Regions from separate parts of the Homo sapiens genome. Here region 1 is linked to region 2. Evidence: promoter capture Hi-C in 16 types of primary human blood cells and fetal thymus (Javierre and others, 2016). All regions are on one chromosome and are shown on one strand. Each heading gives the region's core, a stretch centred on a gene start or on the middle of the fragment in contact. The rest is flanking DNA. Distances are from core to core; before and after follow the strand shown. Region 1 has its middle 2.8 kb from the start of CLTA. Region 2 holds the start of OR2S2 (olfactory receptor family 2 subfamily S member 2).

Region 1 (3,675 bases), core at 1,139-3,638, 230 kb after region 2:
AGCTCTCCCTCCTTTCCTCCTTTCCCCTTTCCTTTTTTTTTTTTGAGATGGAGTCTCACTCTGTACCCAGGCAGGAGTGCAGTGGGATGATCTCAGCTCACTGCAACCTCCACCTCCCAGGTTCAAGCAATTCTCATGCCTCAGCCTCTCCAATAGCCGGGACTACAGGCACATGCCACCATGTCCGGCTAATTTTTATATTTTTAGTAGAGGTGAGTTTTTGCCATGTTGGCCAGGCTGATCTTAAACTCCTGGCCTCAAGTGATCTGCCCGCCTCAGCCTCCCAAAGTGCTGGGATTATAGGCATGAGCCACCATGCCCGGCCCTCATTGCAAACCTTTTTTTTTTTTTTTTTTTTTTTTTTGAGACGGAGTTTCACTCTTGTTGCCCAGACTGGAGTGCAATGGCGTGATCTCGGCTCACCGCAAACCTCCGCCTCCTGGGTTCAAGTGATTCTCCTGCCTCAGCCTCCCGAGTTAGCTGGGATTACAGGCATGTGCCACCACACCCAGCTAATTTTGTATTTTTAGTAGAGACGGGGTTTCTTTATGTTGGTCAGGCTGGTCTCGAACCCCTGACCTCAGATGATCCACCCTCCTCGGCCTCCCAAAGTGTTGGGATTACAGGTGTGAGCCACGGTGCCCGGCTGCAAAGTTTTCTAATGTCTTCTACATTTAAATTTGCCCTCACTTCTCATTCTATATTAGGCAAAATTCTTTTTTTTTTTTTTTTTTTTTTGAGACAGAGTCTCACACTGTTGCCCAGGCTGGAGTGCAGCAGCGTGATCTCGGCTCACTGCAACCTCCGCCTCCTGGGTTCAAGCGATTCTCCTACCTCAGCCTCCTGAGTAGCTGGAATTACAGGTGCACACTACCATGCCTGGCTAATTTTTGTATTTTTAGTGGAGACGGGGTCTCACAATGTTGTCCAAGCTGGTCTCGAACTCCTGACCTCAAATGGTCCACCCATCTTGGCCTCCCAAAGTGCTGGGATTATAGGCGTGAGCCACTGTGCCTGGCCTGGATTAGGCAGAATTCTTTATGACAGAAACACAACTCAAAATTGTCTTAAGGGGAAAAAAAATAGAATTTATTTGTTCACAGAGCCAAAAAGTACAGAAGTAGATCTTTCACTTCAAGCATGGCTGAATCCAGGTCCTCAATGATACCAACAGGAAGTTGTCTTTCTCACTCTCTGCATTCCTCCATGTTGACCTCATTCTCACTCTCAATCTCTCCTCTTGATGACAAGATGACCACAAGAAGCTCTAAGCTTACACTTTGCCTGCTTGTCAGCTCCAGCAGAAAGAGTTAGCTCTTTCCCTAAGATTCTAGTAACAGTCCTGGAATTGAGCCTCATGAGCCTGGTTTGACTCACTTGTCCATTCCCAATCATTTGGGCAGGGAATGGGATGTTCTAATTGGCCAGGCCTGGGTCACATGGGGGTGGTCCACTCAATCCAAACCACAAAACTGAAAATGAGGAAGAATGGTTCCCCAAAGGAATATTGGAGTGCTGGTATCAGAACAAAGGGAATTGGATGTAGGCAGGCAGAACCAACAGATGTCCACTATGCTTCCATCCCTCAACCTAGTGCAAACTGATTTCCACTCCTGGCATCCACTGACATCTCTCTCACCAAGGTGACCAGGGAACTTGATGGCCAAGAGCATCTGCTCAGCTCTCATTCTTCACCTTTCTGCTAGTCACTCCTTCCTTCTGCAAACTCTGCTTGACTTCCATCACCCAGCTCTAACTGAACCCTCTCCAATCTCTCTGACCCACCCCTCTACCTCCTTCACATATAGCCATCCTCCAAGATTTAGGCCTCAGTCCTTCCCTCTCTAGTCTCCATCTGTGGTCCCACTCTCTCCTATACACACTTCTGTTGGGAGCCGAAAAGGCCAAAGGGATCGTGACCAACTCAGCATTCCACTGGAGGCTATATGATCAAACAGCAAACTGTTTATCATGAATGTAGGATGTGAGCAAACACACTGCACCTGCCACCAAAAGGTTTGCTGATGGACATCACTCCTTGGTGCAGGGCTCCTTGAAGTTATCTAAGAAATCTAGCACCTATTGTTCAAAAGATGCAGTCTCACAAGCCTGCTGTGAACCAAACCTCTAACTGACAATTACCGACAATCACCCCCCCTTTCTCGCTCTCTTTTGCCTACGAAATACGGAGGGATGTGTAAAACTCAGGGCCCTTGTCCACTAGAGGCAAAGTGCCCCCTGACCCCTTCTTCCAAATATACTCTTTTGTCTTGTCTTTTATTCCCATTGCCCACCCACCTTTGTTCAGTCCACCAGGGATCATGGCAGGCTACACACTTCTAGTTCCTGGACATCTTCTAAATCTTCTGTCTCCCAGCAATCACCTGGGCTCCCCCAAAGCCCTCAAACTAATGGTTCTGGCAATTTCACAGATTCATGATTTATGACCCCATCCTTTCCCCTTGCCTTTTTCCCAGCCCGTACCTCTGGTCGGTCACCAAGTTAGTCACTTCCCTACTGGGACCCGCTTTCCCATCAACGCTCCCCACTCAGCTCCATACCTCTGCCCTGCCCAGACCTTCATCATGTCACTCCTGACATCTCTGCCCACAGCCTCTGCCCCATCCATCCTGCAACCAGGGACCCGATTAACCTCCTAAGCAGCAGTTGATCAAAACATTCCTTTATCTGAAACCTTCTATGGTTCCTTATTGCCATTAAGATTCCTTAACATGGAATGCTTTCAGGGCTCCAGAATCTGTCCCCAGATTTTCCTTCAATTATTCATCTTGCTGAGCTCTTCAGACTCCAACTAATTTACTCACTGTCCCCAAAACATGCCAAACATTTTCCCACCTCTGAACTTTTACATGACACTAACATTAGACCCTCATTATTGACTCTTCTAAACGTTCCCCATATTTCAAAACTGAGCTCCAAGCCACCTCTGTGAAATCATCCGTAAACACATCAGCTATTCCTCCAATTTTGAGTGTATACTTGTTTGTTGCTTTTGCATAATATGTAATGCCTCCTCTAGCAAGGGAATCACAGGAGAGTTTCTCCCAAAGTCATGCATTTCCCCAAAAAGAATGCTGTCTGTTCCGGAGCTACTACTGTTGTGAGCAACTAAAAGTTGTCTTCCTTGGGCTCTCTCATAGTAGTCCCTGCCCCTCTTTTCCTCATGAGACTATGTCAAGGCTAATGTGAAAATACTTCATGCACTGTTGCCAATGTATGTTAGGGATGAGCATAAAACAACAGACAAGGGGAAACAGAATCAATTGCAGACCCTAACATTTTAACTTTCTTAAATGTTTTTCTTCAACACTTTCCTATGGTTCATACTTTAAATGACTTTAAAATTATGCTTTAAGTAAATATATGCTTTAAATAATTTTTATTTGCTTCATTTTTCCTTCATAGCTATCCCTTTTTTTTTGTCATCAAAGATATGTGCGTTTTTTATAAAAACACTTTCTTGTCCCCTGCTGACTACCTCTGGAAGCTTCTTGTTGACCTCTGGTTTTTTGGTTTCTTTTTTTGGCTTTTCATTTCTTAGGGTGGTGGTGGTGGTAGTGAAGGAGAGGGGTCTTCTGGTGGCCCCTGCATAAGCACTCCCCCTCAACATGAGCATGATTAACTGGAACCACTGTTATTTCTGTGGTGTAGACA
Region 2 (3,874 bases), core at 148-2,647:
TATTTCTCTGATTTCCCTGGTGAATCCAGTAGGGCTGGTAAGTTGCTGTGAGAACATTCTCACGTCCCTGTTCTAACTCTAGAGCTGAGACACTCTAAGGGCCATGCGTCATGCTTTCATGGCTGCTGTCTCGTGTGGTTTTACCGTATGTTCAGAATGCCTTCATCACAGTTGATTATTTATTGAGTCTGGTGTCTGTTGAAGCTGTCAGACATAGGACTAAAACTCAGGAGATATCGTCTGAAAAGTTTAATATCTCCTGCAAATGGACTTAGAGTGAGAAACCATTATAGGTCACATGACTTGGCTTTTGAATGGCAGCTGATGTGATTGTGATTCCTTACTTCCATGTGGGTGACAATCACAGAGGACCCTTCCACCATCACTGAGTGAAGCCTTTTGGTCTCAGCAGTCTCCTCACAGCAGCCTTCACATCCTTGTTCCTCAGGCTATAGATGATGGGGTTGAGCATCGGGGTCACCACCCCATAGAAAAGGGGGATGAGTTTGTCTGAAAGATCCTCTTTGTCTGCTCCCATGGAGTCCTTAGACTTAGGCTTCCCATACATGAAGAATAAGGTCCCGTAGAAGACGATCACCACGGTGAGGTGGGCAGAGCAGGTGGAGAAGACCTTTTTCCTCCCCTCAGCTGAGGGGATCCTCAGGATGGTGGTGATGATGAAGACATAGGAGAAAGAGATGAACAGAACCGGGACTCCTAGGAAGATCACATTCGTCACCTCCATGCTGATCACATTGATGGAAATGTCAGCACAGGCCAACTTTAGAACAGCCAGAATCTCACAGGTGAAGTGGTTGATGACATTGTCTCCACAGAAGGGCAGCTGAATTGCCAAGGATGTGTGTACCACGGAAGCAGCACCACCAATAGCCCAGGAGCTGGCAGCCATGGGCATGTAGGCAGCCTTGCTCATGATCACGGAGTACCTAAGGGGGTTGCAGATGGCCACATAGCGATCAAATGCCATCATGCTCAGGAGCAAGCACTCTGTTCCTGCCATGGCAAAGGAGAGTGCCATCTGCACAGCACAGGCTGAGAAGGAGATGGTTTCCTGGGGAGTCAAAAAGCTGTCCAGGACCAGTGGGACTGAGGAGGTAGTGAAGCAGATGTCCAGGAAGGAGAGGTTCCCTAGGAAGAAGTACATGGGCGTGTGCAGGCGGGAGTCAAGGATGGTCACCAGGATGAGGACCCCATTGCCCAGCAGGATCACGAGGTACATCAGCAGGATGAGCACGAAGAATGTCTTTTCCAGCTCTGGGTGGGCAGAGAGCCTCAGGAGAACGAACCCCATCACAGGGGAGGTCTCATTGGCTTTTTCCATGTGATATCCCCTCTGCCATCAGCAAAGTACTGAGCAGCGCATCAGGCTTTTTGGGAAGAGTCCTAGGCATCTAATATGTGGTCAAGTTCCCATTGCATAATAGAAGAACATATCTGTGCAAGAGAAAAATGACGGAAAGAGACAGTAGGGGGTGTCTTAGAAGACAGAAGGTCAGAGCTGGACAGGTAGTGGGTGAGGGCCTCAAATGTCCGGTTGTGCATGAGGGATTTTTCTGAAGTTGCTGCACCCTCTCAGTGTCCACAAAGGTGATAGAGGCCTGGGGAGGAGAAGTGACCTGTCCAAATCTTCTGAGCAAGTTGGTGACAGAGACAAGACTTGAACCCAGCAGAGCATATCCCTGGCCCAAGGAGGGCTTTTCCTCTTCATTGTGATTAAGTGCTAGGAAATGCTATGAATTATTTCTCTTTAATGCAAATCCACAGCAATTTCATTTGATCTGGGCTTTCTTAGATTCTCAGAGAGGAAAATTCCCAAGAAGATGCAATTCTTGGACCTAGCAAGTGATTAAGTTTCTTTAAACTTTGATTACACGTGGGGAGGAAATTGCGCAAAATTGTTCAACCATATTCACACAGAAACAAGCCTAGTTAATATTCAGCCATAAAGAGCATTACTTCTTCAGTCTAGTGACACAGGCTTGAGCATTGACAGGAATAGATCTGCCTATTTGAAATATGGATTTATTGCAATATATGGGGAGGTCCTATAGCTGGGAAATTTATGAAGCCAACAAATGGATTTGTTGGAGTGACTGAACTCACACCATGAGACAACACTGTGTAGCTTACCAGTTAGTTAATGCAATATTAATAACCACACTCTAACTATAGTTATCGATAGTAGAGTATATGGCATTAACTTCTGATCCCATCTCATTAGGATGTCTGTGAAATTCCTAACCGTGAATGACTAAGAATGTTTTTTCTTTGTCCTTTTATGTTTGCATTTTATTCTTGCATTATCTTCTGACTCTCTGACTCCATTCTTGAGTTCTATGCAAGCAGCTGGCTTATAGGAAGACTTATATGCCTTTGTATAGAGGATATCTAGTCTCTTACTTGCAATTTCCCTGACTCTAAATTCAAAGTACTCATAGATAATATTTTGATAGCTCCTTCTTAATGACAGTGGCTCTATGAGTGTGTATAAGAGTGGGTGGATGATGGAAGATGAGTGGTTAATATTAATATTAGTGAGAATATTAGGGATTCTCACTAATATTAAGGAATATAAGCTGTGCCATATTTCTTGAAACAGCTCATGGAGAAGATATTATCATTCAGGTTTTACAGGTGAAGTAACTGGAGCTCAGAAGATAAATTTGCTCCTTGGGGTTGAATGGCAGAGCTGGAGTTGGATTCCAAGACCTAGTCCTGAGTTCTTTCACGAAACAGCTGCTTTTCTCTTTTGGTGCACAGCTTTGCAAAAGATTCTGTCCCTCCAATATTAGACAGATCTTATAGTCCTATTTATAATTTTCTCTGTGCTAATATTGCTATAGCATAATGATAAATTAAAAGGACAAAGTCAAACTTGTACACACTGTTATGATCTCAATTAGCTCTGTGTATTCTCTGGCCAGTCTCACTGTCTGTCCAACACTCTCTCTTCAGTCATGGGGGAGGGTTTATGTCAGATGTGTTGTCAGGCAGTGCACCTCCCACCCTAAATGGAACTCAGGGTTTCTCAAATTCTTTACGATTGACATTTTGTGCTGGATAACCCTTTGGTGTGAGGGCTGTCCTGTGCATTGTAGGATGTTTAGCAGAGTCTCTGACCTCCACCAATCAGTTGCCAATAGCACCTTCTACCCTGAGTTGTAACAATCAAAATGTTTCCAGACGCTGCCACATGCTTCCAGGGGAAAGGTGTGTGTGTTGGGGCGGGGGGGGGGGGGTTGGCGGGGGGGACGGTGCAAAATTATACCCAGAAGAGAACGATTGGTCTAACCCAGGAGAAGCTTCCCCCATTACACAACCATGGGTCTCAAGGTATTTCCTGTGCAATCCTATTCCCCTCTTCCCATCCCTTCATACAGCACAGAAGGGTGTTCCTGGTTGCTCAGTGCAAGCTGACCCCCTCTGAGTGCCCCACCCTGAACTTCCACCCCAGCTTATCTCCTGTTCCTCCTAGTGCACCTCTCACCCACTCCAGAAAATGAAGAAAAGCAAACATTATATTCAGTGCCACAAACCAGATTCAAGCAGATGCTGTGGTTGCAGAGGCCAAGGAAAGTGATTTCTGTTAGGGAAGCCACACTGCGCATTCCCACAAGATAAATCTATGCACACAGAAGTTTCTATCCATGAATAACATCCTGTGGGCATGAATGATGCGTGGGATTTGGCCTCCTTGAGAGCTGCCTCTGTGGAAGCCTCTGTCTGTTATGAAAAGTTGCTGAGTACATTTGTTTAATTGAAATGAACTGTACAGCTGGGAAGACTCTGCACTCTGAGATCAGAGCTAGTGGAACTACCCCTGCCTGGGTGATGGATATTCCATCAAGCTGGA

Evidence for each region. Contacts are between HindIII fragments. The CHiCAGO score rates a contact against its expected background, and 5 or more counts as called.
Region 1: a contact is called between a fragment that was not itself captured here and the fragment with the promoter of OR2S2 in region 2, in 1 of 17 cell types (endothelial precursors). The highest score is 5.9, in endothelial precursors.

Annotation. Positions count from the first base shown.
Region 1 is chr9:36,186,309-36,189,983 of GRCh38, forward strand. No RefSeq gene overlaps it. Among named protein-coding and RNA genes, the nearest start is that of CLTA, 2.8 kb to the right of the region's middle. The HindIII fragment of the contact is 2,236 bases long and covers 1,271-3,506 here.
Region 2 is chr9:35,956,757-35,960,630 of GRCh38, forward strand. It overlaps OR2S2 (olfactory receptor family 2 subfamily S member 2), which reads right to left and starts at 1,398. Exons shown (of 1, transcript NM_019897.2): 1 at 352-1,398. The coding sequence starts at 1,342. The coding sequence ends at 383. The HindIII fragment of the contact is 3,590 bases long and covers 1-3,321 here.